Linked DNA regions of Homo sapiens: region 2 is linked to region 1. Evidence: promoter capture Hi-C in 16 types of primary human blood cells and fetal thymus (Javierre and others, 2016). All regions are on one chromosome and are shown on one strand. Each heading gives the region's core, a stretch centred on a gene start or on the middle of the fragment in contact. The rest is flanking DNA. Distances are from core to core; before and after follow the strand shown.

Region 1 (6,670 bases), core at 2,958-5,457:
CATCTGTTTCACTACATTTCTGTTCTCTCTTGAGTATGTAGGTTAGGATAAATCTATTTTCTATTGACGATACTCCGAATATTTTAAGAGGCTATGCTACATTCCCCACATCTTTCCATCTCTAAGATTAGTATTCCCTTCTCCTTGAATTGCTTATCTATCATTGTTTTCAGTCCCTTCATCTTTCTAGTCATCTTCCTGTAAAGGACACTAATACTTATCAAATTTTTTTCTGAATTTTGATGTCCAAAACAATATAATGCTTCTATTGCCAGGGATAAAATGTCAATCTTAGTAATTTTCTTTATAATGTAATGGGCTACTATTTATTGAATGCTTGCTATATGCTCAGTGCTTAAAATAGCACTGCAAAAAATGATTCTATTATTCCCATTTTGCAGATGAGAAGACTGAACTAGAATAAAACTAGATAACTAGAACAAAGTCAAGAACTTCACTCGACCTTTATTATTTATTTACTGGGTGGGGCAGTAGTTAATAGTAACATGACAACATATAAGCATACCTCTGTAGGTATGCAGGGGCCCAGACTGGAGGAGATATAAGATTAGGCAAAATGTCAAAATCAGCTAAACATTCTCTGGAAAAGTCCCTGTAAATCTAAGAGGAGCCTGGCATATATCATGCTGCACTGTGATTTAGAATGACCTGCCTTAGTCAAACTAGACTTTGTTCAGTCCAAGGGAATCTGTGGAGATCCTGTAGACTGCTCCTGGTTGGAAGGAAGGACCTGAACCATGGGGATTTCCCATCTTCCCTCCTACACTTCAACCAAGCATCTCTGCTTTTCTCTAGCTTTACATAATTACCCCAATCAGAAGTAGACAGAGGTAAAATAAAAATAAAAATAAGTAAGTGTGTTTGAAAGAGAGAAACAGAAAGGGAAAGAGAGAAAAGCCATTAGTCATGAAAAGTAGTCATAAAAAGAATTCTGACTTTGGAATCAGTTTACCTGTGTTTCAGCCCAATAATATATGTGGTAATATACTTCTCAGTGGGTTACTTAGACATTGTCTTTAAACACTCTGAGCTTTAGTTTTTTCACATTTCTTATAGCAGGTACTCAGATTTTTGTTGAACAAATGAGTAAATGAATAATTTTGTATTTTGGCAAAAATAACCTTACGAGGTTGTAGAGAGGATTAATGCTAATATAGGGTTTACTATAGCCTGGTACATAGTAGGTGTTTTGCAAATAAGGATAATAGCTATTATTATTATTGATTCAATGCTGCTTAGATTTAGGTACAGGTGCCCATGTGGCACTTTTATCTAAGTTAGATCGAGATTCTTCATTAAACTTGAAAGCAAATATTAAATGCTCTTAAATATTTGGAACATGCTTATGTCCAGAGGGGCTTTCCCATTACAAGGGAAGATTATAGGAATCTCAGGAGCTTCTTGGTTCTCTACTCTTGGGAGTGTGGCTTGTGAAGTTTGGTGGCGAAAATAGTGGCAACAATGGTGTTGTCTGGAAGAAGCCTTGCCATTCAGCCAGATGTGCCAAAAATCATGTGGCAACTCAGTGGGATCAATTCCTGCAGTCCAAGAGGTGCCCATATTTGCTGTCATTGCTCTTCCTTGGGTTTAAAACACACTACCCAATGACATCCAAATCTACGTATTTAGTACATTTGTCCTCTGGGTAAGAATAAATTATGAACCTACTGCCTATTCTTGAAAGAGAAAAGACAAAAAAGGGTACTATGCTTTTGATCTGAAAACTAATGTCTTTAATCTACCTAAATCATTGCTAGTTAAATACCATTTTCTGGTGAATCACATTTATCTGCTGTAGAGTATAAGTTCTCCAGATTAAGATCTTGTCTTTTCATAGGGTGTATAAAATAATGCACACAGCTTTAGCACTCCTGGTATAACAGATGGCTATCATTTGTAACAAAAGAATAACATTGGAAGCCTTCTGACATGTCCTAGAAGCTTGGTGTGCAAGAAGAATCCCATTACATACATATTGTAATCCCATTACAACATGTTGTAAAGGTATATTCCCCATAGGGAAAGCCCAATAACTAATTCCTTCAAATCTAGAAAACAGACGACTGAGAGTTAATTTTTTTTTTTTTTTGAGATGGAGCTTCACTCTTGTTGCCCAGGCTGGAGTGCAATGGCACAATCTTGGCACACTGCAACCTCTGTCCCCCAGATTCAAGCCATTCTCCTGTCTCAGCCTCCCGAGTAGCTGGAATTACAGGTGCCTGTCACCATGCCCGGCTTTTATTTATTTATTTATTTATTTATTTATTTATTTATTTATTTATTTTGTTATTTTTAGTAGAGACAGGGTTTCACCATGTTGGCCAGGCTGACCTCTAACTCCTGACCTCAGGTGATCCACCTGCCTCAGCCTCCCAAAGTGCTGACATTACAGGCATGAGCCACCGTGCCTGGCCAAGAGTTAATTCTAATTGCATAAAAATTCTTTGCTTTACAAAATAACATTTTTTAAAAAATTTTTTATTTTTTGCTAAAGAGTCTCTTGAAATAGCCAGATCTCTTTTTGGAGAATCCAAAATTGGATTTGCTTTACAAAATGTTTATTAGACTCAACTTTTCAGGAGCAAAGCGAGTGTGAAAAAATGGGACATTGCCTGTCAGGCATCAATGGTAAAGTGTCACTTAGTCACAGCGTAAAAAATAAATAAATAAATAAAAAGGCTCACCATTCCATCCCCTAAGCCCACCAAAGTCAAATTGTCCAAATGTGGCAGGTGGCTATTGCAGGCATCTGGTGCTCTCATTCCAGTCAGGAAGGTGAGGCTAGCATTGGGGTGGGGGCGGGGGGCAGACATCAGTAACTGTATGACCCTAAACACAGAGTCCGAAGAAGGGACCCCCAGATTACAGACAGCCTTTCCTCCACATATCAGACCCTCTTTCTTTACAAATACAGCAAATACAAGCAGATAACTGGGCATCAGTCATTTCTGATGCATTGCAGGAAAGAGCAACAACATACACTGTATCATTCAATTTATCAAGTAAACTACAGGCACTGTGCTAGACTCAAAGATAGAAAAGAAGACAGGGAGCAAAGAAGAAAACGCACGTTTAGTAAGACACCTGAGTGCCTTCAAAGACCATGCAATGTCTTTAGGTACTGTTCCCAGCTAGCTTCTCCAACAGAAAAATGAGCATACTCCATTTCAAAGCTGGATTCTGTAACCAAATGCACTATTCATATTTTTCCAAGGCTCCTAAACCAATAGTTAACTAGTCTCTTCCAAGATTTAGGGAGGCTGTTGAATTCTTTTCTGGAAGTTCTATGTATTTTGCTAAAAGTTGTGCTCCAAACACTTTACCAAGAATTAGGGTCAATGAAGGGGTACTTTGTGCAAGCTACAAATACTTGGAATTTTCATAAGGCAGTTCATTTCTGCCTTCCTGTGAATAATTTCATATTTCTTCCTTGTAAGACTAGGGTTTGTGTGCTCATGAGTGTCTAGATTGTCAGAATAGAAGGAGTGTTTAATACATTGAGTGGGTCTGGGGCCTGGAGATGAAGATGTGAGGGATGCAAGAAGGAGGATCTTGAATCAGATGGAGCGAAAGATAACTTGGAAACTCCAGTGGAGAAAAATGGCTAATTTGGATTGTTTAATTTGTTCAGGTTTGTGTTTTGGGTTCTGTCACACTTATGTTGAGAAACGTCCCTGCCATCTCTCTAATGCACGCAGTTTATGTTCAGAAACGGGCAGCACAGAGAGGAATTAGCGGTGGGGGAAATTTTCATCACCACCGGTGATGTGTGCACCGATGGTAGATGGCTATCCAGAGTGTAAAAATGTGATTCTGGGACCAAAGGGTCAGCTCTAGAACGAAATCAGACAGCTGGAGAACTGAAGATTCAACTCTTCCTAGGCAAGAGAGTGAGAAAGGTGGGTTGCTTGCAGGGTGGAGGTAGGGGTTGCTCCTCCTAGTTCCTGGGCTGGAGAAGGGCAGGGAACTGGGAAGTGTGTGTCAGAGGCTCGCTATGCTAGGACAAGGTGTTGGGGTACTAGGGTGGGTGGGGGCCTGAGGGGTGGCTTGGAGCCCTGGCGGTGGCTGCCTGACGTCACCGGCCTCTCTGGCAATAGGCTGCGAGCTCAGCTCCCTGAAGCGGCGGCGAAGGCGGCGGCGGCGGCGGCGGCGGCGGCAGCAGCGCGGCTCGGTCTCTGGTCCATTCACTCCACGCTTTCTGCAGCCGCCACTGCAGCCGCGCGGCGGGGGCTCCCTCCTTGCAGCCAGCCGGCGGTCCAGGTAAGAGACAAGGTGTGAGTAAAGGCTTCTGATGGCCGGGTGGCCTGACGGCCAGGTGCGAGTGGGGAGGACAGCTCACGCGGCCTGAGCAGCCACCCCTGGCCATAGCTCCAGCCCCCGCCCCTGCCCCCGGCCCCTGCCCTGGCTTGCTTGCGCGCTACCTCGCTACTCCGCAGTGCAACAGTTTGCAGCTGCCTCTTGGGAGCAGCAAGGAGGCTCTCCTGTGCGCTGCGGGTCTACCGGCTCCAGTATGCCGGAAAAGCCTCGGGGCCTTTGGGCTGGGTCTGGGAAGGACAGAAAGAAGGTCCCGTTCCCCAAACTTTGCAGGCGGGAACCCTCCCCTTTCCATTCCAGCTCCTCTAGAAAGAAGCAGGCTACTGCCAAGTTGGGGGCACAGGGAAATGGGGAGGAGGGGGCCGTTTGTGGGAATGTGTCAGCTGAGAAAGATGCTTCAGCTGCTTTTTTTTTTTTTTTTTTTTTTTTTTGGAGAGGGGAGAATACCAGGGAAGAAGGCTGGAGAAGAGATGGAGCGCGTTCCTGCGCGTCAGCCGCGGTCGCGGACAGAGGCAGAGTGGGATGTGGTGCCAGGGGTATCCCCCTGGGAATGGGACCCAAGGGATCTGACGCTGTCCAGGGAGGGCGAGTCTGGACGGGGAGGGAAAGGAAGGGAGGACTGCGTACCCGGAGCCCGCGCGGCGGCCCGGAGTGGGTGCTGGGAAGGGTAGGATCCAGGCGAAGACATCAACCGAGAGGGCGCAGAAAAGAGGAGAGCCGGCGCTCTGGGAAGTAGGGACTTCAACCAAAGCGGCTGCGTGTCTGTTGCAATTATAAAGTTGTGAAGGGCGGAAGGGAGGCTGCCTTATCTGCTGAGTAATCTGCACCTCCGCGGTGCCGGCGCAGACCCCATCCTGTCGAGTGGCATGAGCAGGCTGCTGGTGGCTCTGGTGCACGGCCACGGGCCGGCAGGCTGGGGTCCGCTGACCGAAAATACAGGCAGCGCCCAGCTCAGGCAGTGTGCCCAGAGGGCCGCTTTGCGGTGGTGGTTGATCTTTCCCGACAGCACTCCCCTGGGCAGCGGCCGAGATTCTAACTAAGCTTTGTGTCTTTGCAGCCTGGTGCCTCTGCAAAGGAAAGGGGAGCGTGGAGACGTGTTCGAGGTGGTATCGGCGAGGATCTCTCGGGCGCCGCTCACTCCTTGGTCGCCTTGCTTGCCAGCAGTTGCTCCCTTAGTCCTTGGCTCGCTCGCACACCCCCTCCCGCTACAGGGAGCAGTTTTGGGTGGCGTGGGCTCCGTCCTCTTCTTGGCTGGTAGGAACGGTGTGCCCAAGAGGGGAAGCCTAGTGGGCCTGGCCCCTCCCAGCCCCGCGCCAATGAGTGCCAGGGCGCCGAAGGAGCTGAGGCTGGCGTTGCCGCCGTGTCTCCTCAACCGGACCTTTGCTTCCCCCAACGCCAGCGGCAGCGGCAACACGGGTGCCCGCGGCCCAGGCGCAGTAGGCAGCGGCACCTGCATCACGCAGGTGGGACAGCAGCTCTTCCAGTCCTTCTCCTCCACGCTGGTGCTGATTGTCCTGGTTACCCTCATCTTCTGCCTCATCGTGCTGTCCCTCTCCACTTTCCACATCCACAAGCGTAGGATGAAGAAGCGGAAGATGCAGAGGGCTCAGGAGGAATATGAGCGGGATCACTGCAGCGGCAGCCGCGGTGGCGGGGGGCTGCCCCGACCTGGCAGGCAGGCCCCAACCCACGCAAAGGAAACCCGGCTGGAGAGGCAGCCCCGGGACTCTCCCTTCTGCGCCCCTTCCAACGCCTCGTCGTTGTCCTCTTCGTCCCCTGGCCTCCCGTGCCAGGGTCCCTGTGCTCCTCCGCCTCCACCGCCAGCCTCCAGTCCCCAAGGAGCACACGCAGCTTCCTCCTGTTTGGACACAGCTGGCGAGGGCCTTTTGCAAACGGTGGTACTGTCCTGATCGTCTAGCCCCTCTCGTTCCCCGTCCTCGTTTCCAGCATCTTTGCCACCCTTGCTTTTTTCCTTCTTCCTTCCTTTTCCATTTTCCTCTGGCCCCTCTTTCCTCTTCCTGGTTTCCTTACCTGCCCTCCCCTTACTCTTGTTTCTCCTCCGCCGAGGCACTGTGCGGTATTTGTAAATATTGGGCGAGGAAAGTCTCGGAAGAAGAAATAACGCTGATAATAATACTTTATTAATATTTATAGTAATTATTATAATACTAATAACACAATCCAAGCGCATGACAAATCACATAATTTCTAACTGTCAATGGAGGATGCATCTTCCCATTCCACCCCGCGCTCCCCTCAATTAGGAGGAGAAACCGCACAAGCTACCAAATATATAAAAGGCATTGATTCCCGGAGCAAAGGGAGGGGAGGGGGC
Region 2 (6,851 bases), core at 1,860-4,359, 700 kb before region 1:
TCTTAAATAGAAATTGAACAGTTCTTTTTTAAAGGCTACTTATGAATGTTTATGAAAAGTTTTCCTGTAAATCCTTTGTTTCTCCGTAGCCATCTTCTAGGAGGAACAAAAGAAATAATCCATTTAGATAAAGCACTTGTTTTCTAGGATGCTTTTGTAGGTGCACAGTAAATGTGTTTCCCCTTCTCCCTTATTCCCCTTCCTACTTCATATGCCTTTATTCTTGATCATCTTTTTAAAAGGGAATTGAATAAAAAATGAAGCTTGATTCTTACTCTTTATACAATGTTGAATAAAATTTCAAGATTCACAGTAGGAAATACATAATAGATTTTGACTGTGAAACTTAGAAGAGTGTTTCTTTAAGTAACTAAAAATTAAAAAAAAAACCTAGAAAATGTGCTTATTGAACACTTAATATGTGTTATGTGTTAGTCATTTTCTGAACATTATCTCATTTAGTGCTTGAAATAAAGGTCGTTACTACTATCTCATTATACAGGTGACGGAAAAAAAATAACTGTGGCACAGAAGCAATATAGTACTGTAGTGAGGCACACAGGTAGTAAATGGCAAAGCTGGAATTTGAACATAGGTGTTCTGACTTTAATATTTATGCTCTTGTCCAATAATCCTGTACTGTCTCATCCTGCTTCAAATTAGATCATTTTAAGTCTGTAGTTAAGACTCATTTTATCAGCAAAGTAAATACAAGAAGTTAGATTTTCGTTTTAAATAATTTAGCCACTGTATTAACTATTATGTATATCACTTTCTAAGAATCATGAACATAACCAAAGCTTCAAATTAAGATGAGAAGGAATGATATAGTTTTATAATACCATGAATTGTTCACGTAAGTAGGACATGTGTCTAAGTACTAATAGCTCATCTGGCATTTGAAAAATGTATATAGCAAAACAACTTTTTAAGCTTTTAAAAAAGTTTTACTCTATGTCAGTTATCTAAATCAATCTAACTCTTTAATATATACAGTTTGAGTTTTGGCAAATGTATGGTGTTGTGTAATTACCACAATTAAGAATAGAACAGCGTCATCACCCCAAAACATTTCTTATTCCCTTTGCAATTGCTTTACCCTTCACTCAACCTCTGGCAACCACTGATCTGATTTCTACCCCTGTAGTGTTGCATTTTTCAGAATGATATATAAATAGGATAATACAGTATTTAGTCTTTTGTGTCTAGCTTCTTTCATTTAGCTTAACGTTATTGCATGCATCAGTAGTTTGTTCCTTTTAATTGCTGAGTAAGTATTTCATTGGATGGATGTAGGTTTTCTTAAGCTTTAAATTGGCATTGGTTGTTTCCATTTTTTGGTGATTATGACAAAAGTCATTATAAACATATACATTTTTATGTAGATAATTTTCTCATTTCTTGGGGAAACGAGTGGGGTTATTTTCTAGGAATAGGGTTACTGGGAACATATGTTAAGGGTATATTTAACTTTGAGAAACTCCCCAGTTGTTTTCCAAATCAGCTCTTCCAATTTGTGTTCTTGCCAGCAGTGTATAGAGTTCGAGTTGCATCCCATCGTGTCAGCACATGGTATTGTCAGTCTTTTAATTTTAGCCATTCTAGTAGGCATGTAGTGATACCCTACTGCAGTTTTAATTTGCATTTCCCTAATGACTGAACATCTCTACATGTGCTTATTTGCCATTCATATATCTTCTTTGGTGAAATGTCTTCAAGTCTTTTGTCTCTCTTTTGAAATTGTGTTGCCTTAGTAAGTTCTACGAGTTCTTTGTATATTCTGAATACATATCCTTAATCAGATATATTTTGCTAATACTTTCTCCCAATCTATGGCTTGTTTTTATTTTGAGTGTCTGGCAAAGAGCAGGTATCTTAAATTTTGAAGTCTGATTTCAATCACATTTTAGGTAATTTATATATGTGTCGTATCTGATAAATCTGTGATTGACCCAAAGTCACAGATTTTCTCCTATGTTCTCGTCCAGAGGTTTTATAGTTTTAGCACTTACAATTTGGGCTAGGATCCTCTTCACCTTAATTTTTGTATATAATGCTAAGTAAGGGTCAAGGTACACTTTTTTTTGCATATGGGTATCCAGTTGATCCAGTACCATTTGTTTGGAAAAAACTATGCTTTTTCCATTGAATTACCTTGACTCTTTGAAAGTCAGTTGACTTTCAAAGATACGTCTGTCCTTTCACCAATAACACCAATCTTGATTAGTGTAGCTTTATACTAAGTCTTAAATCAGATCTTTGAGTCTGTCAACTGATATATATTTTCTTAAAATTGCTTTGGTTATTTTTGGACCATGGCATTTTCATGTAAGGTTTTGAATCAGCTAGTTACTTCGTATAAAAAGCTTGCCGATGACTTCATTGAGGTTGCATTGAATCTGTAAATCTAACTGGAGAGAATTGACATCATAACAATACCTTTTTATTTAGGCCTTCTTTAGTGTCTTTTTAGCATTGCTTTATAACTTTAAGCACATGTAATGTGCACATATTTTGTTAGAGTCATCTCTTACTATTTGATATTTTTTAATGCTATCATAAATGGTATTTTTAAAATTTCAATTTCCAATTATTTGTTGCCAGTATATAGAAATAGTTTGTTTTTTGTAGACTGATCATTCTAAACTGACCTGTTAGTTCTTGTGGCTTTTTGGGAGTTTCTTGGGATTTTCTTTTGTAACTGATTATGAGGTTTGTGAATGAGGATGGTTTCATTTCTTCCTTTTTCATCTGTGGACCATATATTTCTTTTTTCTTTCTTTTTCTTTTGCTTGATTTTACCGAGTAGGATCTGTGGAATAGAAGTGGTGAGAGTAGATATTGCTGTGTTGTTCCTGATCTTACTGAGGGGGAAGCATTCAGTCTTTTACCATTACATCTGATGTTAGCTGTAAGTTTTTTTTGTAAATGCCTATGAGTTTGAGAAGCTTCCATCTATTCCTAGCTGGCTTAGTGTTTTTATGATAAAATGAATTGTGACTTGTGTCAGATGCTTTTTCTGTAAACATTAAGGTGATGACGTGGTGGTTTTTAGCCTGTTGATTATGGTGTATTGATTTCCCCCTGCTACATGTTGAATCAAATTTAAATTCCTTTGAAAAACTCCATTTAAGCAAGATTTCTTTATATTTATATTATAGGATTCTATTTGCTAATATTTTCGTTAAGGATCTTTCTGTTGTTGTGAGGGATATTGGTTTGCAGTTTTCTTTTTTTGCGATGACTTGACTGGGAATATGACACATTTTGAAAGCTTTTTATATGTTTTGCCAGCATAGAGGTCATGTTGATCGTTGCCCTACTAGCGTCTGTATTGTTTGAATCTCTTTTTGATTCCAATATGAATATTAATAATTTATATCAATATTAACAGTTATTTAGAAAGTTATGATTTCTTTCTTAATTTGTGTATATATTGCTTACACATATTTTTCCCTGTTATGATATTAGTCTCTTTCCTGTTGATTCGTAAGATGTCCTCAAACAGTAAAGTTATTGTCTCTGGCTTTTAACTTTGCTTTGTGTCCCTTGTCACACACAGTTGTTCATTTCCCTGCCTTCTCTACTTTATTCCAAATTCCTTGAAATGTTGTCTTTTGTTTACTCAAGTAAAAATACTCAGAATTTTATTGCCATATGAATAAATTCAGAATTGTATTCTCACTTTAAACAGTAGGGTTCTTGATTTTATTTTCTATTTTAGAAATCAATTAATAGCTAATTTAAAAAAATCCATTACACCCACAATCAAAACAGTAAAAATTCACATTCTGTTTTTTTTAAAATGTTAACTACTAAGGTACAATGTCCTTACCTAACGTCAGTGTCTAAGTTTTCTTGTTTGGACCGTTTTATACTTTCAAGTATAGATTCACATTCACTTAGGAATGACTAAGTCTTTTTAGTCATTCCTAGAAAGGACACATAGAAAATACATGTGAAGAGATCATCAACTATTTCATCCTTCAACTTTAGCGTTCCTATTTGAACAACTACATTTTCATTTTATGCTGTGACAAGGGCATGGTTAAAGATGAGTGAAAACATGATCCTTATGGGTACATTTTAGTAAATGCAAATTTTATTAAGTTGGGGGAAAAAAGTCCTAGAAAAATGAAAAAAGAAAAAAAAAACCCAGAAAGCACACACAGTATACAAGCCCATTTGAAAATTATTTTTAAATTCAACAGACATGAAATTACTTTGGCAAATTGCTGTAAAAATTTAAATGCTCATTCTAAGAAAACAACAACAACAAGCCCTTTTCCTAACTTAGGTTCCTTTCCTCTCAGTCCTGCTCAGACTTAGTGTTTCTCACATCCAGGGCACCAGAGATGATGTTCTTCCAAGGTTGAGTGCTCTGTTCTTGAGGGGCAGGGCGGGGGACTCTGCAAGAGTGGTTTTGAGAAAAATTTCCTGTAAAATACCCTTTTACCCAGATTATAAAATGCTTATTTTTGGTGGAAAATCTCTAGTAAAACACAGAAAATCACAAATAAAAATAAAAATAACCTGTAATTTCACCACCTAGAGATAACAACTGTCTTTGTTTTTTTAAGTATACATACACATTTGTTCTTTTTTTTTTTTTTTTTTTTTTTTTTTAGAAATAGGGTCTCGCTCTGTCACACAGGCTAGAAGGCAGTGGCATGATTGTGGCTCACTGTACCCCCAAACTCCCAGGCCCAAGCGATTCTTCTGCCCTAGCCTCCTGAGTAGCTAGGACTTCAGGTGTATGCTACCATGCCTGGGTAATTTTTAAAAATTTTTTTGTAGAGGTGGGTTCTTTCTGTGTTCCCCAGGATGGTCTCAAACTCTTGGCCTCAAGTGATCCTCTCACCTTGGCCTACCAAAGTGCTGAGCTGACAGGCAGTAAGCCGCTGTGCCCTGCTCATATACCCATTTTTAAATAAGTGAGATGCTCCTAGGTATATATATTTCCCCATGTCATTAAAGTGTCTTCGCAAATATTTTTATGGTTGCCTAATATGCCATTAACCTTTATTTAACCATTCTCCTGCTGTTGGATACTTAGGTTAATATCCTTTTTTTGAATCTCCGTTTAAAGAGTTCTACTAATTGGCAGGTTTCTTCTCTCCTTCACTTTCACTACTCTCACCAGCATAACATGGAACTGATTCTACAGTTCGAAAATGCAAGATAGGAATCTTCTCCTTATCTCATGTAAACACTTACTTTATAGTAATTGTTTCAAAAATTTTACCCCCAAATGATTACCGAGCTTACACATATTAGGGCATAAGATGACCTAGGTCTCTTTGGGTTATCGACAGGGTTCTAAGAGGGCCCCAGTGACACTACGTAATACCTCCTTATGCCGCTCTTATTGAAGGAGGGTCACAAATTCCTCCAGACCATATTCAGATCTGCTCATCTCCATCCAGAGAGGTTTTAGCACATCACAGCTTGCTCCTGGCCTGATAAACTATCAGTCCCTGAGGAGTGATTGAATAACCCACATTTCAGTAACTACCATAAAATATGATTCTGCATCCACTCAGTGGCATCGTCTCACAAGTGCCTTTGATGCAGGGAGCAGCCTCTGCTTGTGACAGTGCAGCTCGACTGAGCAAATATCCTTTTCTCAGAGTGAAAAAAACAAAACAAGGAAGAACAAAAGAAATTGTTGCAGGCCTTTTTTTTTTTCCTCCATTAAACATATGATGCCTGACTGGATTTTCTACTTTGTACTTAATAACTCACTTGTTAATACTATACATCAGGCCAGGCATAGTGGCCCACACCTGTAATCCCTCTGAGGTGGGAGGACCACTTGAGCCCAGAAGTCCAGGGCTACAGCAAGCCACGACACTCCAGCCTGAGCAACAGAGAGAGACCCTGTCTCTAAAACAAACAACACAATGCACGTCGTTAATGTACACCAGAGAGGAGATTTGGTCTGCAAATTCTTTAATGATATCTCTTGTGACCATTAGAATACCTTCCCAACTACTAGTAAGCTGATGAATCATTTTGAACATCTGGAAACATTCTTCTAAAGTTTGTTTTTTTCCCTTGTCAATCACAGTTTTGTCTGATCGTGGATTCTGGATCCATTAGTTCTAATGGATCAATTCAAGTGGGCATGAAGTTCCACTTTGGCAATTCAGAGTAAAAGCTTACCTTCCATGGCTGATGCTCTTCTGCCTCCATTATAATTTTACCAGGAAAACAATAGTCCCTCTCCACTCTTATTCTTGGTATGAACAATAGGATGTATTTCAGTCAGTAAATTCTGTGGTTCTGAATTTCCTTCAGATTGCTTTACTTCTAAACATTTCGAAAAGATTAGCTGTATGTGTAGCTCTGGGTTCAGCTTCACCTCTTAGAGATTTCTCAACCACTAGGACCTAGACAGGTTTTCCCTTATGACTGAAAGTCTCGTAGAAAAGTGACAACTCGGGCTCCCCTAACACACATCTCAGTGGTAGGGAGCTGTCTTCCTGGGAAAACATAATCCAGGGCTATCAAACAAAAGGAAAATATTGTCTTACTGATCAGTGTGTTTTCAGGGCCTGGTACAATGACTAGTGCAAATTTCACAAATATTTTGTGAATGAGGGAGTGAATTAACTGAATTTCTTATTCCTTCACTTTGGTTTTGTTTGCTGTGAGTTATATAGAACTCATAGGTAGGGTTTATTTTTGGAAAACCTGTATTTTGTGAAGTTCACCTCATGACTTACAGTGGTTCAAAAGGTATTGTTGAACTTCCTATAAATGTGAGCATAAAAAACTTACTTGACTCTAAATGATATACTTATGTAGGCCGAGCTTTATAATTTAATTTGGATAGTAAGTGGTAGTAT

Evidence for each region. The method cuts DNA at HindIII sites, captures the fragments that hold promoters and counts their contacts. A CHiCAGO score of 5 or more calls a contact.
Region 2: a contact is called between a fragment that was not itself captured here and the fragment with the promoter of C11orf87 in region 1, in 1 of 17 cell types (M1 macrophages). The highest score is 5.6, in M1 macrophages.

The regions. Positions count from the first base shown.
Region 1 is chr11:109,417,983-109,424,652 of GRCh38, forward strand. C11orf87 (chromosome 11 open reading frame 87) reads left to right here and starts at 4,208. Exons shown (of 2, transcript NM_207645.4): 1 at 4,208-4,281; 2 at 5,393-6,670. The coding sequence starts at 5,652. The coding sequence ends at 6,245. The HindIII fragment of the contact is 3,414 bases long and covers 1,961-5,374 here.
Region 2 is chr11:108,723,906-108,730,756 of GRCh38, forward strand. The region is part of intron 13 of DDX10 (DEAD-box helicase 10); the gene reads left to right. All of the region lies in intron 2 of LOC124902750 (a long non-coding RNA gene), which reads right to left. Among named protein-coding and RNA genes, the nearest start is that of DDX10, 62 kb to the left of the region's middle. The HindIII fragment of the contact is 326 bases long and covers 2,947-3,272 here.